7 separate regions of the Homo sapiens genome follow, and all the other regions are linked to region 7. The links are contacts of gene promoters, found by promoter capture Hi-C in blood cells and fetal thymus (Javierre and others, 2016). All regions are on one chromosome and are shown on one strand. Each heading gives the region's core, a stretch centred on a gene start or on the middle of the fragment in contact. The rest is flanking DNA. Distances are from core to core; before and after follow the strand shown.

The links. Contacts are between HindIII fragments. The CHiCAGO score rates a contact against its expected background, and 5 or more counts as called.
Region 1: a contact is called between a fragment that was not itself captured here and the fragment with the promoter of CLDN23 in region 7, in 2 of 17 cell types (M0 macrophages and total B cells). The highest score is 7.1, in M0 macrophages.
Region 2: a contact is called between the fragment with the promoter of PPP1R3B here and the fragment with the promoter of CLDN23 in region 7, in 1 of 17 cell types (fetal thymus). The highest score is 5.6, in fetal thymus.
Region 3: a fragment that was not itself captured here is called in contact with the fragment with the promoter of CLDN23 in region 7 in 12 of 17 cell types (total B cells, naive CD4 T cells, M0 macrophages and 9 more); the score reaches 10.3 in total B cells.
Region 4: a contact is called between a fragment that was not itself captured here and the fragment with the promoter of CLDN23 in region 7, in 5 of 17 cell types (M1 macrophages, M2 macrophages, total B cells and 2 more). The highest score is 8.2, in M1 macrophages.
Region 5: a fragment that was not itself captured here is called in contact with the fragment with the promoter of CLDN23 in region 7 in 6 of 17 cell types (naive CD4 T cells, M0 macrophages, monocytes and 3 more); the score reaches 8.1 in naive CD4 T cells.
Region 6: a fragment that was not itself captured here is called in contact with the fragment with the promoter of CLDN23 in region 7 in 16 of 17 cell types (naive CD4 T cells, naive B cells, total B cells and 13 more); the score reaches 27.7 in naive CD4 T cells.

Annotation. Positions count from the first base shown.
Region 1 is chr8:8,326,270-8,328,969 of GRCh38, forward strand. PRAG1 (PEAK1 related, kinase-activating pseudokinase 1) reads right to left here. Exons shown (of 6, transcript NM_001080826.3): 5 at 1,441-2,192. Among named protein-coding and RNA genes, the nearest start is that of PRAG1, 59 kb to the right of the region's middle. The HindIII fragment of the contact is 1,080 bases long and covers 778-1,857 here.
Region 2 is chr8:9,149,247-9,151,946 of GRCh38, forward strand. PPP1R3B (protein phosphatase 1 regulatory subunit 3B) reads right to left here and starts at 1,412. Exons shown (of 2, transcript NM_024607.4): 1 at 1,317-1,412. PPP1R3B-DT (PPP1R3B divergent transcript) reads left to right here and starts at 2,479. Exons shown (of 5, transcript NR_183348.1): 1 at 2,479-2,670. RefSeq lists enhancers at 812-1,760, 1,807-2,046 and silencers at 1,397-1,666, 2,167-2,416. The HindIII fragment of the contact is 22,346 bases long and covers 1-2,700 here.
Region 3 is chr8:8,290,015-8,292,714 of GRCh38, forward strand. No RefSeq gene overlaps it. Among named protein-coding and RNA genes, the nearest start is that of FAM85B, 64 kb to the left of the region's middle. The HindIII fragment of the contact is 1,342 bases long and covers 695-2,036 here.
Region 4 is chr8:8,240,621-8,243,320 of GRCh38, forward strand. It overlaps the pseudogene FAM86B3P and the pseudogene ALG1L13P. Among named protein-coding and RNA genes, the nearest start is that of FAM85B, 14 kb to the left of the region's middle. The HindIII fragment of the contact is 5,273 bases long and covers 1-2,700 here.
Region 5 is chr8:8,308,272-8,310,971 of GRCh38, forward strand. No RefSeq gene overlaps it. Among named protein-coding and RNA genes, the nearest start is that of PRAG1, 77 kb to the right of the region's middle. The HindIII fragment of the contact is 7,345 bases long and covers 1-2,700 here.
Region 6 is chr8:8,258,550-8,261,249 of GRCh38, forward strand. No RefSeq gene overlaps it. Among named protein-coding and RNA genes, the nearest start is that of FAM85B, 32 kb to the left of the region's middle. The HindIII fragment of the contact is 1,027 bases long and covers 873-1,899 here.
Region 7 is chr8:8,700,571-8,703,270 of GRCh38, forward strand. CLDN23 (claudin 23) reads left to right here and starts at 1,367. Exons shown (of 1, transcript NM_194284.3): 1 at 1,367-2,700. The coding sequence starts at 1,829. RefSeq lists a silencer at 1,100-1,719 and an enhancer at 1,193-2,160. The HindIII fragment of the contact is 12,864 bases long and covers 1-2,700 here.

The sequences.
Region 1 (2,700 bases), core at 68-2,567, 370 kb before region 7:
TTAAATATTGTTTAATATTATTTTTAAAATGTTAGCAATATTATTTTAAAAAATTGTTGGTAAGCAAGCTACCCCACCAAGGCCATTTCAAATTAGCTTATTCTTTGCACTTTTCTAACTGGAAAAAAAAGCGATGTCTTAGGGCAGGTGATGAGAGAAGATAGCTCAGGGTCTCCCTCCTGACTCCCAATAAAAGCCCACATTTATAGAAGGGCCAGGGTCTCAATAGGTAATCAAGGAACAGCAAAAGAAGATGACAAATAGGGCCACAGGAAGGACTGGAGTTCATGGTAGAGACTCCAGTGGCCCAAATGGGTGCAGATGGCTCAACTAGCTCACACAGAGCTGCACTCTGACAGTGCAATACAGTGTGGGTAGCAAGAGGCCTGATCCAGCATCAAAGGTTAAAGAGCTGTGCTGCCTTGAGCTAGTCACTTAATGTCTCTGAACTTCATTTATCTTAAATGGTAGGGACATAACTTAGGCTTTGGAGACAGACACAGAAGAGCTCAAATCCATTCCAGCCACCAACTAGCTATGGGCAAATTACTTAACCACTTTGAGCCTCAGATCCTCCATCTGTAAAACCTACCTAACCTGTAGGATTACTGTTAGGATTAGAGGTAAGAGTCTAGTTGTAGAGTGAATGCTCACACAAATGATATTATTACTATTATTGTTCAAGATGATTCCTAGGTCGAATGCTCCTTCTGGATCTAACATTAGAAGAATGACCTCATTATCCATCTCCCTCACTACATCATAGCTCTATAAGGAAGCTTATATTCACACCTACATACTCAGATTGTGGCAAAGTACCTGGCCTATAGTAGACACTCAATAAAAACCTGGTCAATAAATGAATAAACTCTCCGTTGCACTAAAAGGCAACTGTTTTCTTAACTCAGCTAAAGCACAGAATGTGTCTTATATTCATACTACAAATCTCATTGCACCATGTCCTGGGGCAGAGAGAGAGTGAAGCTGCTGAGCACTAAGTGTTAAAAGAATGCTTAGGGGTCAGGGGTGGTGGCTCACACCTGTAATCCCAGCATTTTGGGAGGCCGAGGTGGGTGGATCATCTGAGGTCAGGAGTTCAAGACCAGCCGGGCCAATATGGCAAAACCCCATTTCTACTAAAAATACAAAAATTAGCTGGGTACCGTGGTGCACACAGATAATCCCAGCTACTCAGGAGGATGAGGCAGGAGAATCGCTTTAAAATGGGAGGCGGAGGCTGTAGTGAGCCAAGATTGTGCCACTGCACTCCAGCCTGGGCAACAAAGTGAGACTCTTATCTTACAAGAAAAAAAAGAATGCTTAGGAATCAACTCCCCTCCTAATGCCCAGACAGGTGAAATGACTTGCTCAGGCCACAGTTCTGCCCAAGCCAGCACCAGCCAGTGGCACAGCAGAATGCAAGGAGGGAGTGGTACCTACTTTCACAGCATAGGTGCTGCCGGGGTCCTCAGAGCAGGTGGCACAGTAATAAATGGCATCCCCCGAGTCACAGCAGGGCTTGTTACAAGTCAGCTTGAAGAGCGACCAGTTATTCTCATTGAAGTGGAGCTCCTTTTTCTGGCCGCCCATGAAGAGGTCCTCACATTTGGCTACAAGGCGGGCCAGGGACTGGGTGTAGAGTCCCCCCAGCTTGGCATAGGTGCCCTCCTTGCTGCTGATGTTGCTCAGGAGACCGTGCAGCTGAAGCTGGGTGCTCCCGGTGGAGGCTTGACTGGACACGCTCAGCTGGGAGGATGAGGCGGAGGGGGCCCCTTTGCACTGGAGGCCAGGGCTCCCGCAGCCGCCTCTGTTGCCCGCCAGCCCTGCTGCCGGAAGCCAGTGGCCACTGCCTTTGAAAGCTTTCTCCAGAGGATCGGAAGAGGAGAAGACAGGATGGTGGCGGTTCCCGGGGCTCAACGAATAGCTAAAGTGAGATTCGTCGTGGACGTTGGTTTCCGAGTGGCTTAGGTTCAGCTTGGGGCTTGCTGTTCCGGGCTTGGGGGAGCCTTGGGTCCAGAAGAAGCCATCCGGTGAAGAGGCTGCCCGGCTCACTATCTTTTTCTGGGGGAGTGGAGGGGGCTGCTGGGGGCCACTGGGGGACACGTCCTCAGTGGAGCCTGAAGGAAACGGAACGGGAGCAAAGAGCTTCTTCCCGCTGTTGGTGGGCGAGTGAGCCAGCTCAGACGAGGGACCTGAAGAGGAGAGACAGAAACCATAAGACCAAGGCCAGTGCCACTCAATTCCAGGGTCCTGCAGACTTGTTTCCCTTTATTTATTTATTTATTTGGTCAGAGCAATTAATTTTATGTTACTTCTTTTCTATTTCTCTAATAGACAATATATGCACAATGGAAAAAATCAAAATGCAGAAAAGGTATAGATTGACAACTAAGTCTTCCTCCTACCCTGTCCCTCATACTCAGCTCTCTCATCAGAGGAAACCACTGTCAGTAGTGTTTCATGCATCCCTCCAACAATCCAAACAAATGCGTGCCTGCACGCGTGCGCACACACACACACACACACACACAAATTACATAGAAAAGAGCAAACGGTGGCTACTGTTTGGAATAATGCTTTTCTTTCACATCTTGGAGAGATTTTTAAATCAAATATGCAGATCTATTTAATTATTTTAAACAGTCTCACCATAATATATCACCATATGCAAGTATCATAATTTAACCATCCCTTTTTGAT
Region 2 (2,700 bases), core at 162-2,661, 450 kb after region 7:
TCCCAGCACTTTGGGAGGCCGAGGCGGGCAGATCACGAGGTCAGGAGATCGACACCATCCTGGCTAACACGGTGAAACCCCGTCTCTACTAAAAATACAAATAAAAATTAGCTGGGCGTGGTGGCGGGCGCCTGTAGTCCCAGCTACTCAGGAGGCCGAGGCAGGAGAATGGCGTGAACCCGGGAGGCGGAGCTTACAATGAGCCAGAGATGGCGCCACTGCACTCCAGCCTGGGCGACAGAGCGACACTCCGTCTCAAAACAAACAAACAAAACCAAACAAACAAAAAAATCAGATGCACAAGCAACCCACCAGGAACACTGAAAGCTGCCGAACTGCATTCAGTAAACATTCACAACCAGGTTATAATTTTCATTTTTAAAGACATGGCCATCTACCTCCCTCCAACAATTCTGTGTTCCCTTCCAAAAGGTTTCACTGATCCAGCATGAAGAGAGTGCATGTCTTTCCCCTTTGTACTCAGACCATGGGGGCCTATTCACAGCCTTAAAGGCTCCTTGTACCCCTTGATCCTGTCCCCATCATCCAAAGCATCTTGGAGACTGACATTTGTGAATACAGTTGCATATTCTAGGAAAGAGGCAAGTTCAAATGACACAGCCCCTGCCGTCTAAAAACGTACGAGGGAAAACAGAGTACTAGGCTAAGAATGCCCGCACCTTGCTTTGCTACTTGAGCGAGTCACTCAGCTGCTCTGGGCTTGAGGTCCCCTCCAAGGTCCCTGCTGGCCCTGACATTGTATGTTGCGACCCACCCCTGGTGCCGCTTCTCTTCCCACTAACTTTTTTTCCTAAATACCTCAACTGTACTTTTGTGTAAGTCCTCCAGCTGTCTTCACTTTAGTTTTGGCTCCTGGACAACTCTGCCCAAGGAAACATTTCCTCCTCTCCTCCTCTTCCTCCCAGACCAAAGCTCTAATTGTCTCTTCTGCTGCACCCTGGGTCTCCCAGGCAGGCCCCCGCCACTCAGACCACAGGTTCCAACACCTTCCAAGTCTCCAAGTTCCCAAGTCCAGTCTTTCCTCTGTTTTCTCCTCTTTTTCAGAAAACAGTGCTCTGACAGGCCCCAAATCTTCCAGTAAGTCATTACCGGCCCCCACTCCCTCTTTTGCAGCTACTGTGCCTTCCACACCCCTTTTTCTGGATTCCAAAGAGACGCAGGAGCAGGCCAGTGCTCTCCAGGCTGGAGGATCCCACAAGTTACTCTCCGACTCTGTCCCCTCCGTCCAGTTTGACCAGGGCTGCACTCCGCCCCCAACCTCCCTACAAGCCTCCTTGGCCTCGCGCCGCACCCACCTTTTGGGCCGCGGAGAAGCCCCCTCCCCAGCTCGCTCGCCGCATCGGAGAGCCCGCAGGGTTGTGGCAAGCGCGACTACGTGAGCGTCGGTGTGTCCGGGAGGCAGGGCCTGGGCTGGGTTCCCGGAGATGTCGGCGGTGGGAGGAAGACGACGAGGAGGAGGAGCCCGTTATCGCACCCGGGCGGGGCCGGCAAAGGGGCAACCCCGGCCGGAGCAAGCAGCGCGACACCAGCACCCCCGCGCGGCCGCCTGGCCTCCGCCAGCCCGGGACGGGGATCGTGCTAGGTCCCGTCGCCCTCGGTGGCCTGAGAGCCTACCAAGTGTATTTCCTCGCGTTTTATAGGGAAAATAAGGCCCGGAGAGAGACGAAGCGGCTTGTCCTTAAGCTCCAAACCCCACTACCCAACTTTGGAGAAGTCTCCAGACCTCTCGGGACCCGGGGCTGGGAACTTGTGCTAGTTTCGAAGCCAGAACAACAGGTGGTAAAGGGATCAGCCGCCGCAGCCGCAGCTCCCGGGTCACGGTCGCAGCCGGGCCCAGCAGCGCGGTGGAGCACGTGGGCCCGGGAGGCGCTTCCCAGCTGCGGTCCCTGGATCGCCCTCTCCACGCTGAAGCAACAGCTCCCTGGGGCCAGCTACCTAGAGTGTTCCAGCCCCGGTGTGCCAGTGCAAGTCGCACGGTGAAAATGTAGGTGACAGGAACCCAAAGAGGTCCCCGCTGCACGCCCTCGCCTTGTTGTCCCCAGCCCTTCCCTCGGACTCGAGACTTGGGGAGCTACGTACCGGGTTCAGCTCATAAGTCCCGAGGGCAGACGCGCCAGCCCGCGGCAGCATACGCCCTGGGGGAACAGGGACAGCTGCCGTGACGGCAGGAGCTGGGCCCGGGCTCGGGTTCGCGCCCCCCGCGGGCGGCGAAGTCCGTCCGTGCACGAGAGCTGCGCGGTCACCTCCTCCCTCCAGCAGTCACCCGGGACTCGAGCTCCCCGCGGCCGCGCTGCCCCCTTTAACTTTCCTGCCAGCTCTCGGGACCCCGGGGTCCATCCCAGGCCCCCTGCCACGTGAACGCCCCCCGCAGCCAATGGGCGCGCCCGGGACTCCAGCCGCCGACCAATGGGCGCGCAGCCACGGCGCTGGGGAGCACCGCTTCGCCACGTGATCGGCAGCGCGCCCGGAGTGATCCGGCTGCGGGCCAGGGTCTGGGAAGGGGGTGGTGGGTCGCCGTTTCATCAGAAGCCGGAGGACGGGCGCCAGGGGGCAACTTCCTACAGGAGGGCGTCCCGTTAGAATGACAGGGCTTTTGCAAAAGTCTGACACCCGTGGCACAGAGCGCCCCAGATATGGAGGGTTTCACAGGTAGGTATACTTCAGAAGAAATTTCCTGAC
Region 3 (2,700 bases), core at 116-2,615, 410 kb before region 7:
CCCAAATTTTTCACTACCGGCGTAGATTTTTTTTGAGGATACGATAAGGTTGTTTTTCATTTTGCTTTCAAATAAATAATCATCGGTAGGAAAAGGAGATTTATTATATGTATAAACATGTGTTCTCTGTGCAGGGGATATCAGATGTATGCTAACTCTTTTGTGTAAAGAGATCATGTCTAAATCCCTTGAGTGGCTGTTCAGCTAACGTTTAGAGTCTCTTAATCTTGTATTTGATGCTAAACCAAATAGGCCCTTAGGGAAGAATTAAGAATAAGCCAGACAGTATAAAATTCTTATTTTGTTAAAGTTGAATAGTATTTGTTGCATTAGGTACAACCAGTGTAATCACTATGAGGGTTAGTTGAGTATACTCTCTGTACACATACACTCTAAAATAAAATGACCTAGGTATACAGAAGGACTAAAGGGATTAAAGATTTCTATCTTATTATTTGACATTGAGAGCACTGCCCTTTTGTTGAAACAAAATGTCATTCAGATGAATAGATAAGGTCATACCTCCAACATCACAATGAATCTAAATCGCGGTAAAAATAAGTTGAGTAACAAATTTTTACTTAAAAGCCATCAAATTTTATTTTGTGTTTTTGAGTCTTGGATTTTGTGCACAGAAACATTCTAATATTGTTTAAGCAACAGGGAATAGAAAAGATTAATCAGTAATTAGCAAAGCTTTAAAAAAATGAAAGTGAACATGAGTCCTAAGACACGCTGTGATTTTTGCTTTTTGTTGCTGTTGTCGTTGTTATTGTTGTTTTCGCTTTGTCTTCCAGGCTGGAGTGCAGTAGCATGATCATAGCTCACTGCAGCCTTGGACTCCTGGGTTCAAGTGATCCTTCCACCTCAGCTTCCTGAGGAGTAGTGGGGGCTACAGGCATGTGCCACTGCATTTGGCTAATTAAAAAAAAATTTTTTTTCTGGTAGAGCCAGGATCTTGCTGTGTTGCCCAGGCTGGTCATAAACTAACACTGTGATTTTTTAAACATGAGCTCTCCTTTGGGCTGGCAACGTGATAAAAGAAAATATGTTTTTCTTCTGAGGAAAATAATTATTTATGAACACATTTTTTCTTCATTAAAACATAGATTTAGCCCTAAAGTCTAAGTCAAAATAAAAACAACTTAAATATTGCTCCATAAGGCTAGTAGTTGGTAATTTTTGTTTTTTTTTTTTTGAAATGGGATCTCACTCTGTCACCCAGACTGGAGTGCAATAGTCAAATCTCAGCTCACTGCAAACTCTGCCTCCCGGATTCCGGCGATTCATCTGTCTCAGCCTCCTGAGTAGCTGGGATTACAGATGTACACCAGCACACCTGGCTAACTTTTGTATTTTTAGTAGAGACAGGGGTTTCACCATGTTGACCAGGCTGGTCTCGTACTCCTGACCTCAAATGATCCACCCACCTCAGCCTCCAAGTGCTTGAATTACAGGCGTGGGCCACCATGCTTAGCTAGTTGGTAATCTTTTAAGGTGAGGTTGCATTTACAGTAGTCAGTTGCGTTTACTGCCCTCGCCCCACATTTTGTTTTCAGGGATTCAGTGGAATTTGTTCTTATATTTATTTGTGAATAAGATTACATATTTCACTTTTTTCCCTTTCTTCTCTTTGGCTGTTGCTGTGCTGCATGCTTTAGTAATTATTACCAAGCCCCACCCTCGCTTCCAGATACCCAGGTGGCTTGTATTTTGTACCATGGCTCTGGTAGGGATGTGCTGCCTCTCCTGGATGCTACACAGGGTGCATTGGCCATGCTCAGGCTGAGCATCGCCTGGCTGCTGGTGCTGCAGCCCCTGCCACCCTCTCTGGCCCTGCTTGACATCACTGCCTCCAATTAGCTGCTTTCACTGCAGACACCCTAGAGCCCATACAGCAGATGCTGAGGTACTGGAACCTCAGGGTTGGGGAGGAGATGCTGAACTGCATAATATTCCTTGGAAAAGTGGGAGAGAATTCTTGCCTCCCTTTGAGGGCTGTACTCCATTAAACTGGTCCAGAAGTTTGGGTATAAAGCTTATACCCAAAGGTTTTGAGAAACAGGCATTTTCACTTTTAATTATATGATTACCTCTACTCTTTTTTTTTTTTTTTTTTTTTTTTTTTGAGACAGAGTCTCCCTCTATCGCCCAGGCTGGAGTATGGTGGTACGATCTCGGCTCACTGCAACTTCCACCTCCCAGGTTCAAGCGATTCATTCTGCCACCTCAGCCTCCTGAGTAGCTGGGATTATAGGCTCCCACCACCACACCTGGCTAATTTTTGTATTTTTAGTAGAGATGGGGTTTCACCATGTTCCCCAGGCTGGTCTCGAACTCCTCACGTTAAGTGATCCACCTGCCTCAGCCTCCCAAAGTGCTGGGATTACAGGTGTGAACCACCGCACCCAGCCCCTACTCTATTTAAAATAAGATTCAGGCATGAGTCCACTAGGCTGGACCAGGGAAAGATCTGAAAGACAAACACAGCCATTCTTCTCCCGGATAACTGACTCTTCAGTCTTGGAAGACATGGGCCGGCCTGCTCCTCTTTCCCCTTGGGACAAGTTTTACTTATGTGTGTATTTTTCTTCCCCGGGAGTCACTTGGGTTTTCGTGGAAATAGACTGCTGTTTGCCAAAGCCACGTCTGGGTCCCAGAGTTGATGTATTCAGACAGCACTGTCAACATACTCTAGCT
Region 4 (2,700 bases), core at 44-2,543, 460 kb before region 7:
CATGGCAAGGCCTGCAGGCTCCCAACAGTTGGGGTGCCCAGCCGCATCAGCAGCACCAGGCCACCCCTGCCAATCGAGGCATGGGCTTGCTTTCTCTAATATTGTTTCTGGGTGCTAAGGTTACAACAGCAAACAAGACTGACTCATTCCTTTTCTCCACGGGACTTACTGTCTTATCATCCCCTGGACTCAAGATGAGGGTGCTAGGATGCCCTCCCACACCACCCCAGCTTACCCAGGGGCACACCTCAGGGTATGTGGACCTGCACAAAGGTCCCTTCCTTAGCCCCATGAGACACCCCAGGGGACACACAGGTCCACAGATCCTGCCACAGGCCTGGGAACCCATTGGCAGGAGAGTAAGACAGTGCAGGGGTCCACAAACATTTCTTAAGGGGCCAGAGAGTAAATACTTCAGGCTTTGCAGGCCAGACGTTCTCTGTTGCAAAACGCAATTCTGCTATTGTAGCTCAAAGGCGGCTATAGACAACTCAGAAGTTAATGAGTGTGTTGTGTCCCAATGAAACTTGATTTACAAAAGCAGGAGACTGGCCTGTAGCCTTAGTTTGCCAACCCCTGGATGAGTGGGTTCCCAGGTCTGCAGTGAGAAGGGGAGAGGCCAGGGCAGTGGCGAGCAGGAGAGAAGGCAGCTGAGGATGGGAGGCCTACCAGGCCCTGAACAGAGAGTGCGTGCTGCCCACCTTCATGAGGAGCCGGTGCTGCAGGTCCAGAGGTGCCTCTTTAAAGAAAGATGCCAGCTTGTCGTAGACGGTCACAGCCCTGCAATGAAATCATGGCAGGACTATTGCATTAGTCCAGCGTGGAGGCTACTTTCTGCTCAAACCACTCATTTGGGTCCCGTGCCCAACGTCACCCATCCTCAGCAAAACCACCATTATTTCCTTCTGCCTGGTTTCCAGAAAGTTCCCCTAAAGCCCTGAGGAATCACCGAATGAAAGGGGCTTTTTACAAACAGGAAACTTAAGTGGAGTGCCAATACACAACATGGATTGCAGCAGGCTCGGTCTAAGATAAAACCAGACGGTGGACAACAGGCCAGGTAAGACCCACATGGTCTGCACTCCCTGGTTCTGTTATTGTGTGGAGGAATGTCTTAGTCTGTTGCTCCTGTGGGTGTAGCTAAAGCACAAACCAGGAGTCCTCATCCTTAGAAAGCAGTTAGACAGACATCTGAGAACCAATCCCAAACTGCAGCCTTCCACAGAACCTTCTGGAACCTTCTGGAATGCAACTTATTACTGCCAGAGGGTCTTTGATGAGAGTCTACTCTCCACCATTTGTCTTCAGAGAGAATACCCACCTATTCTCTTTCCGTGGAAAGGTAAGTTATTGGAGTTTATGCAGTCTGGTATATTAATTGAGAGCTTTACTTCAAAGAATGTCACGTTTATGGTTCAGTCTCACAGACTGGGTTAAAAAGGCAGTGTTGACTATTAAGTTGTAAATTACTATGATGATCATTATTATTGAAGCAAGCTGTGAGAAATGAGCATTATCTTACAATATCTGCATTTTAGTGAACCTGAAGGAAGAGTGTATTGCTGGAATTACAGAAGCCTGAGAACCACAGGGGAATTCTCACTGCAGGGTATTCAGGGTCAAAAGCTGATTCTATTTTGCATGCTCAATCCTTCGTCAATTTATTTTTATTTCTTTCTTTATTTTTTGAGACAGGGTCTTACTCTGTCGCCCAGGCTGGAAGGCCTTGGTGCAATCTCAGCTCACTGCAACCTCGCCTCCCGGGTTCAAGTGATTCTCCTGCCTCAGCCTCCCACGTGACTGGGATTACAGGTGCTCACCACCATGCCTGGCTGATTCTTGTACTTTTAGTAGAGACGGGGTTTTGCCATGTTGCCCAGGCTGGTCTTGAACTCCTGACCTCAAGTGATCCGCCTGCCTCAGTGCCTAAAGTGCTAGGATTATAGGTGTGAGCCACTGCACCTGGCCTAATTTAACAGAATTTAACTGAGCAAAGAATGATTCACAAATCAGACTCAAAAATTAGACACAGAAACAAAATAGGTTCAGAGCAGCTCTGCGCTGCTGCGTAGTCAGAGAAAATTGATGAAGAGAAAAAGGAAAATGATGTACAGAAAAGGCAGTGAGGTACAGAAGCAGACAGATTGGTTACAGCTCAGCATTTACCTTATTTGAATGTGGTTTGAACAGTTGGCAGCCTGTGATCAGCCAAAACTCTCTGATTGGTATATGAATACGAATATTTCACTACCCATTCTTCTGAGCATCTAGGTGTTTTCTATTCACACATTCATTAGGTGTCAGGTCTGTAAAGCAAAAATAAAATTCTAAGGCCCCCCCAACCATCTGAATAGACTTCCTCCTCAGCCAAGACTGTTTTAAAATTTAACCTGAGAGACTATTTCAGGCATTGCCGGGAAGTCGGGGTCAAATATGCCTCATGATACCTGTCAGGCATTAATATCAACGCAGACTTTAAGTCTGGTAAGAAACATTTTACAATCTCATTTCTAAATGCACTTCTTAAAGTGAGGTATTGTTCACTTGGAATATTCCACTGTGATTTTAAATCATCTTTAGTAAGATTTTGACAGTTTTGTAAGTGTTTGCTGCTTCCAGGGACTCATATTTATCCATGTAAATGTAGGCATAGCTGGAAGGTGGAGTGTATTCAGCTCTTCAGAAATTAAGGGTTTCATT
Region 5 (2,700 bases), core at 189-2,688, 390 kb before region 7:
TTGTATGACTTTAGAGGGTTGTTGGGCGATAAGGAACATGAAAGTGTTTTGCCAACTGTAAAGCTCTGTGTCATTTGTGGAACATCATTCTTCTTAAGCGGTTGACACAGTCATTAACTAAAAACCAGGCATCATCATAAATGTTCTCAACACATTTATTAAACACCTACTGCATACAACGCAGGGGGCAAGGGAATGAGGGAGCAAGCCGTGTAGGACATTGTCACTGCTCTCAATGGTCCTACAGTCTACTCAGTGACAAAGAATATACTTATGTTCAGATTTTTAAAAAACTGCCTGCCTCCCAGGTTCGGAGAGATGCAGTAGTGGATAATTGCAGAGGAGAAAGGGACACTAGCTTTCATAAGCAGGGGAGGACTTTTTTATTTTTATTTTTATTAGTTATTCTTTTTTATTGCTTTTAATTTTGGGGACTACATAGTAAGTGTATATATTTATTGGGTACATGAGATAAATATTATGTGCAATGTGAAATAAGCACATCATGGAAAATGAGGTATCCATCCCCTCAAGCATTTATCCTTAAAGTTACAAACAATCCAGTGACACTCCCTATTTTCAAATGTACAATGAAGTTATTATTGACTATAGTCACCTGTTATACTATCAAATAGTAGATTTTATTCTTTCTGGCTATTTCTTTGCACCCGTTAGCCATCGTCACCTCCCTGCATTGAGCCCCTTGCCACCCTTCCCAGCCTCTGGTAACCATCCTTCTACTCTCTATGTTCTTGAATTAGGTGTGCCTTGAGCCAAACATTGAAGGACTGGCTGGGTGTGGCGGGTCATGCCTGTAATCTCAGCACTTTGGGAGGCCAAGGTGGGCGGATCACCTGAGGTCAGGAGTTCGAGACCAGCCTGGCTAACATGGCAAAACCCCATCTCTACTAAAAATACAAAAATTAACCGGTCGTGGTGGTGGGTACCTATAATTCCAGCTACTCGGGAGGCTGAAGCAGGAGAATTGCTTGAAGCCGGGAGACGGAGGCTGCAGTGAGTTGAGATCATGCCGCTGCAGTGAGTTGAGTTCATGCCACTGCACTCCAGCCTGGGCAGCAGAGTGAGACTCCATCCCAAAAAAAAAAAAAAAAAAAACTGAAGGACGGGCAAGATGCTGATGGGTAGCCAGTAAACACTGGGGTATACACATGGAGGTACAGTGTACTTAGTAGAGAATGGAAGGCATGCAGCCTAGACTCTAGTCCTGAATTTACACTTCACTTATCATTTCACTTTTCCACACCTTAATTTTCTCTTAAAATAGAGATTATCTTTCTAGATTTCTCCATATATCAGAGGAATGTTTTAAGAAGGTAAAATAATATTTCAAATAACAAGACTTTAAATCTTGGAGCAGAGAAGTCAAGTAAACAAAGACACTCTTATTCTGTCATTCATAGTTTTCCAACATTGTCATCAGACACCAAACTAAAATCTTCTGTTCAAGCAACCCAGGGAGTCTTTGAATGACAGGTCAGCGGCATTAATGAATTCCTTCCTCAGTGCTCAGCCCACAGGGATCTGTGAATGAAAATGAGACAGAGGACCCGGATGTAATGCCACTTTCCGTTTGCTAAACTGAGTAGTGTCCATTTACAGAAACACAGATACCCCGCAGAGCCCAGCTGTGGCCATTATCAGGGCTTGTATTATGCTCTTAACATCTCTGCAGGAATATTCACTGTCTGTCTCCTGCATTATTTCCTTTCCTTCCCAATAACTTTAGAGTTACCACAAGGGAAACACTCCAGACCTCACCAGGCCTGTCCAACTGAAGGTCATGATTCCAACCCTCCATCAAACTGCTACCAGAGGCCTGTGCCCCAGTGAAAAGCCGTTTTATGAGAGCACCTGTGACAGGTGTTGTTTAGAAATGGTTATCTTGGGCTGGATGTGGTGGCTCACACCTCCAATCCCAGCACTTTGGGTGATGGAGGTGGGAGGATGGCTTGAAACCAGGAGTTCTGGACCAGCCTGGGCAACTTAGTGAGACCCCCATGTCTACAAAAAATTAGTCTGGTATGGTGGCATGAACATGCAGCCCCAGCTACTTGGAAGGCTGAAGTCGGAGGATCACTTGAGCCCAGGAAGTCAAGGCTGCAGTGAGCTATGATCATACCACTGCACTCCATCTGGGCAATGGAGCAAGGCTCTATCTCAGAAAAAAAAAAATAGAAGTGAATATCCTACCAAAAGAATGAATGACTGCCATAGCCATTTAACATTGCCCTTGGTTTTCTTCATTTTGACTCTTTCTCCAATGAACTGTTGCCTTTTCAGAGATGAAACAAAGGGGGTAGTTGGGTAATAGGCCAGGGCCCAGCAGCTGGTTCCAGTGAGGCCTGTCTGCAGGATGAACGCTGTGATCAAATGTGTGACTCATAGTTGGGAGGTGTCTGCCAACCCCGGCTGCAGGGCACAGTCGGCACTGACCGGGAAGGCAGGCTGATCTGCACCCTTGTCTGCTTCCTGTGCTGGGAGCGCAGCCCCCACCCCACCTCATTCCCCCAACCCTATCTCCACATGGAATTGTTCCACTGGCTGTCACCCAGGGAGCCCCTTCTTTCTACCCATGTTCAGTTGGGTACTTGAAACAGCACATGACTCATGTTGTACTCAGCCAAGACTAACAGCATCAGGCTTCTATTGTTCAAGAGCTGACTCCAAGTTCCATGAACT
Region 6 (2,700 bases), core at 136-2,635, 440 kb before region 7:
CAGGCTGGAGGGCAGTGGCATGATCTCGGCTCACTGCAACCTCCACCTCCTGGGTTCAAGTGATTCTCCCACCTCAGTCTCCTGAGTAGCTGGGACCACAGGCATGCAACACCATGCCCAGCTAATTTTTGTATTTTCATTAGAGACAGGATTTCACCATATTGGCCAGGCTGGTCTTGAATTCCTGAGCTCAAGTGATTCACCCACCTCAGAATCCCAAAGTGCTGGCATTACAGGCATGAGCCACCACACCCAGCCAGAACATTCTTTTATTATCCCTTTAGGATGTATAGAATCCATAGTGATGTTACCTCTCTTATTCTTGACATTAGTAATTTGTGTCTTTTCTCTTATTTCCTAATAAGACTGGCTACAGGTTCTCATTTTAATTTTTCTCCTTAACAAAACAGCTTTTGGTTTTATTGATTTTTCCTCATTGTTTTATTGTTTTCTATCTCATTGATTTATATTCTTCATTATTGCCTTTCTTCTGCTTACTTTGGGTTTACTTTGCTCTTCTTTTACTTCTTTCTTCAAATGGAGGCTGAAGATATTGAGTAAGATGTTTCTCCATTTCTAATATAGGTGTTTGGTGCTTAATTTCCCTTAAACATTGTTTTAACTGCATCTCATAAATTTTCTTTTTCAACTATTTACTATATCTTTTTGGGATATTTTAATTGTATTACTTGGTTTCCAAATGCTTGGGGATTTTCTAAATATCTTTTATTTATATCTACTTTATTTCCATTGTGATCAGAGACCACGCTTTGTAGGATTTTAATCTTTTCATATTCATTGAAACGTAATTGATGGCCCAGAATATGATCTATCTTGGTAAAATTTCCCTGTACACCTTGAAGGAAATCAAAAGCTTTCTCTCCAAAATGTTGAGGATTATTAAGTTAGAAAGACGGAAAGCTCAGGGCAGCAGTATGCCTCAGCATCTGTGTGCCTGGCAGCAGGACAGCAACCCTTCCTTACCAGAGATGGCAGTTGTTTGTCAGCCCAGAGAAGGTACCAGCAGGCACCAGAAGAATCAGGGAACAGATTTTACCATCTTCCCACATTTTCCCACCTTTTCCACAAGACTGTAACTGCTTTCTTCTTTGTCTTAGAACTGTACAGGACACAGGGCTCTTTGTTAAAATACTATTTAAGCAAGGCCTGTTGTATCTACCAAGCTAGGGACAGGGGTTACAAACACGTCCAGGGCAGAGTTCCTTCCCTCGAGGAGTTCACAATATGTGTGAGAGACATGTACATTCACAGTGGCCATGCAAAGTGATAAGTGGCTTTTGAAAAGGTAATGTGTACACTGCTATGGACCCTGAGGGAGGGGAGAATGACAGACAAAGCAGAAGATTCCAGAAAACCTCCAAAATAATGGGAGCTTTGACTCAGCCCAGAAGGACCTCCTCTTAGCAAGTCTCCTAGAGGCCAGTCTGTTTAGAGCTGCTGTCTGTTACATTTTCTTCGGTCCCTTTACCTAACGTCTCCTTCAGCTCCCTTAGCCTTGGCAAAAGGCAGAGGAAGAGGAGAAAAGCATTTCCATCAATGGAGTCATTTTGCGTCACAGGGCACTACATGTGGTGATGTGGCTAGAACGGTCCTTGTAAAAATAGCCTGAGCAGCTAATATCCAGTCAGCTAAACGGACCCCATTGCCATTTAGTGTCCGCACTTGTTTCAGTAAAGGCTGAAACCAAGTACAACATATGAAGTCCACAGCCTCCACGTGTGTACACCAATGCCTTCCTTCCACAAAACAGGTACTCAGTGATCATTTGCTGCTTGGAATTCATATCATCAGCTGAGCTTAATCAAACAAAATCACCCTTCAGAGACTACTAACCCATGAGGCTATAAAGTAAGTCCATTGATTTTTGTTCATCACCTAAGCTTCCATAATGGAAATTAATGAAATTGAATTTTAAATGAATGAATTTAAAATGAATGAAATGGACATTAATGAAATTATCTCCTTTGGGAAGGTTCACCCAATATAAGCTGCAACTTTGGGAATAAAATGGCAAAGGTAACAAAACAGCTGTATTGGTTGTATTAAAGTGGGCAGAGGAATGAAAAAGAAACAGGCTGATTACGGAAGGAGACAGTGCTGATCTTGTGCCTGTATCAGAGAGGGCATCCTCCCTGGCAAAAAAGGAAGGGAGAGAGGCTGAGAGCTCTCTATGCCTTGAGTGGATAAAGGCGGCACAGATTCTCTTAAGTGGCTCCAGAACTAAGCAGCAAGTGAAGGGGCTGAGATTGGGACCAGTTCCAGCCAAAGGGCTCTTCATCACTGCCAGCTGCCACACAAGTGGCCACTTCTGGAAACAGGCACCTGATCAGGAACTCCCTTCCTGCAACCTACTTCTCTTTTGCACATTGAGGAAGTATTCACTGGGCACCCGTCATGTCTTGGGCGTTTTGCTTTGCTTGAGGGACATGCCCTTGAACTGCAGTTCCCCTTAGCCTACTTCTGGATGAATGTGAATTTCCTCTATTCAGTACATCCAAAACAACATACGGACATGAAACGGATAGTAGGAATAAGAATATAGCTGCTATAGGCCAGGTGTGGTGGCTCATGCCTGTAATCCCAGCACTTTGGAAGGCCGAGGCAGGTGGATTACTTGAAGTCAGGAGTTCAAGACCAGCCTGGCCAACACAGCGAAACTCTGTCTCTACTAAAAAGACA
Region 7 (2,700 bases), core at 117-2,616:
GTCATACCAATGAGCTGTACACTTAAAGATGGTTACAACGGTCAACTGTATGTTACATATATGTTACCACAGGTTTTTTTTTTAATTTAAAAATATTCTTTTAAAAAAAGCAGTCACTGTCATTCCTAGTGTTGTCCACTCTGGAATATTCAAAATTATTTCAAACCAATGCTAAATTAACTTGAATTTTAAAAATAGTTTTAATTTTAAACAATTATAAAGGCAATACGTTTTCATTGTAAAAATCTAGAAAATACAAAAAAGTGTTATTAAAGGATAATTTTTAGAAAAAATGTAAACATCGTGACTTTCACACAAATATAAAATGAATATGTGTGAAAGAGGTTATTTAACTCATTATTGAATAAGGAAACCAGTATGATGTTAAAACCAAAGAAGCTGGCCACTTGCCTGCAGTCCTAGCTACTCCAGAGGCTGAGGCGGGAGACTCACCTGAGCCCAGGAGTTTGCAACCAGCCTGGGCAACACAGCGAAACTCCCCAACCCTGTTTAAAATAAATAAATAAATAAATAAATAAATAAATAAATAAAAGAAAAAGGAAAAAAAAAAAGCAAAGAACAAAAGGACACACATATACAGACAAACAGGAATGCTAAAATGAATTTACAAATCAATGCCATACTGGTCAGTATCCATTGGACAATAATCATTCCACTGGGACGAACTCATTAGCCTTGATGTTGGCAAAAGTCATTTGCAATACTACAGGCTTTCTATAATTTATAGAGTTGTAAAATAACCTACAGACGAGAAAGGCCACAGTACACTGTAAAATTAAATAAACCTGCAAAAAACGCTAAGCAGGACATCCGGGAACACTGGTCCCTCTTTCTAGTCCCCTTGAAAGTCTCACAAGGCTGAAAAAGGAAAGTAAAATCCTTGTGTAACCCTTCTGCCCAGAAGTACACTGGCACAGATTCTTTAGAGACGAATTTAATCCAGAGTGTGGAGCCTTTATTAAGGAAATAATCCGGTGCAACGTTCTGGGACACGCTCCTGGACTGGGTGGGCTTCTGCACACTCACCCAGCGCACCTCCAATCCCCGGGAGCGCTCGGCACCGCCCACTTCTCTGCGAGTGGCTGCAAGTTGCAGAGCAAACCAGGGGGCGATCTGGAACCCTCTGGGAGTAAAGGGCTAAGCTATAAGCGCAGGGTCGACGGGCAGGGACCGGAAACAAATTCTAGGAACCGAGATCCGCTGAGCAGCAGGGAAGCTGCGCAGCCACCGCGTCCCGCCAGCGCCGCCTCTTTCCCTCCCCGCCCACCGCCCGCCTGGCCCGGCGGGGCGGCGCGAGGACCCAGGGGCGGGGCGACCTTTGCTCCGGCCGTGAGCAGTCCAGGCCAGGCGTGGCCCAGCCGCCCGGCTGCAAGGTGGGGTGTCCCCGCCGCTCGGATCCCCATCTCACCTGCCGCGGGCGAGGTGGCCCCGCCGCTTCCTGCGCTCACCTCGGGTCCCTCCCTCCCGGGCCAGGTTTGGCCGCGGCAGCCGCCCCTGGGCGCCCGCGCCCGGACCCGCGGTTTCGGTCAGACCCGCCCGCGGGCTGGTTTCGATTAGGGCCAGTAGGAGGGCGGAGCGGCCGGGACGCCAGGAGGGAACTAGCCTAAGTGGGGACGGTCCCCGTGCAGGAGACAAAGAGCGTCCCTGGAGCGATCAGGGCTCAGGAGCCCGACCCGGAGCCCGGGGCGTCCGCGCTGACTTCGGGTCCCCGGAGCCTGGGGCACGGCAGGGAGAAGACGACGGCGGAGAAGGCGACAGCGGAGAAGGAAGGCAGGCTGCAGGGGCGCCGTCGGCGCGGCGGGCCGGGATGCGGACGCCGGTGGTGATGACGCTGGGCATGGTGTTGGCGCCCTGCGGGCTCCTGCTCAACCTGACCGGCACCCTGGCGCCCGGCTGGCGGCTGGTGAAGGGCTTCCTGAACCAGCCAGTGGACGTGGAGTTGTACCAGGGCCTGTGGGACATGTGTCGCGAGCAGAGCAGCCGCGAGCGCGAGTGCGGCCAGACGGACCAGTGGGGCTACTTCGAGGCCCAGCCCGTGCTGGTGGCGCGGGCACTCATGGTCACCTCGCTGGCCGCCACGGTCCTGGGGCTTCTGCTGGCGTCGCTGGGCGTGCGCTGCTGGCAGGACGAGCCCAACTTCGTGCTGGCAGGGCTCTCGGGCGTCGTGCTCTTCGTCGCTGGCCTCCTCGGCCTCATCCCGGTGTCCTGGTACAACCACTTCTTGGGGGACCGCGACGTGCTGCCCGCCCCGGCCAGCCCGGTCACGGTGCAGGTCAGCTACAGCCTGGTCCTGGGCTACCTGGGCAGCTGCCTCCTGCTGCTGGGCGGCTTCTCGCTGGCGCTCAGCTTCGCGCCCTGGTGCGACGAGCGTTGTCGCCGCCGCCGCAAGGGACCCTCCGCCGGGCCTCGCCGCAGCAGCGTCAGCACCATCCAAGTGGAGTGGCCCGAGCCCGACCTGGCGCCCGCCATCAAGTACTACAGCGACGGCCAGCACCGACCGCCGCCTGCCCAGCACCGCAAGCCCAAGCCCAAGCCCAAGGTCGGCTTCCCCATGCCGCGGCCGCGGCCCAAGGCCTACACCAACTCGGTGGACGTCCTCGACGGGGAGGGGTGGGAGTCCCAGGACGCTCCCTCGTGCAGCACCCACCCCTGCGACAGCTCGCTGCCCTGCGACTCCGA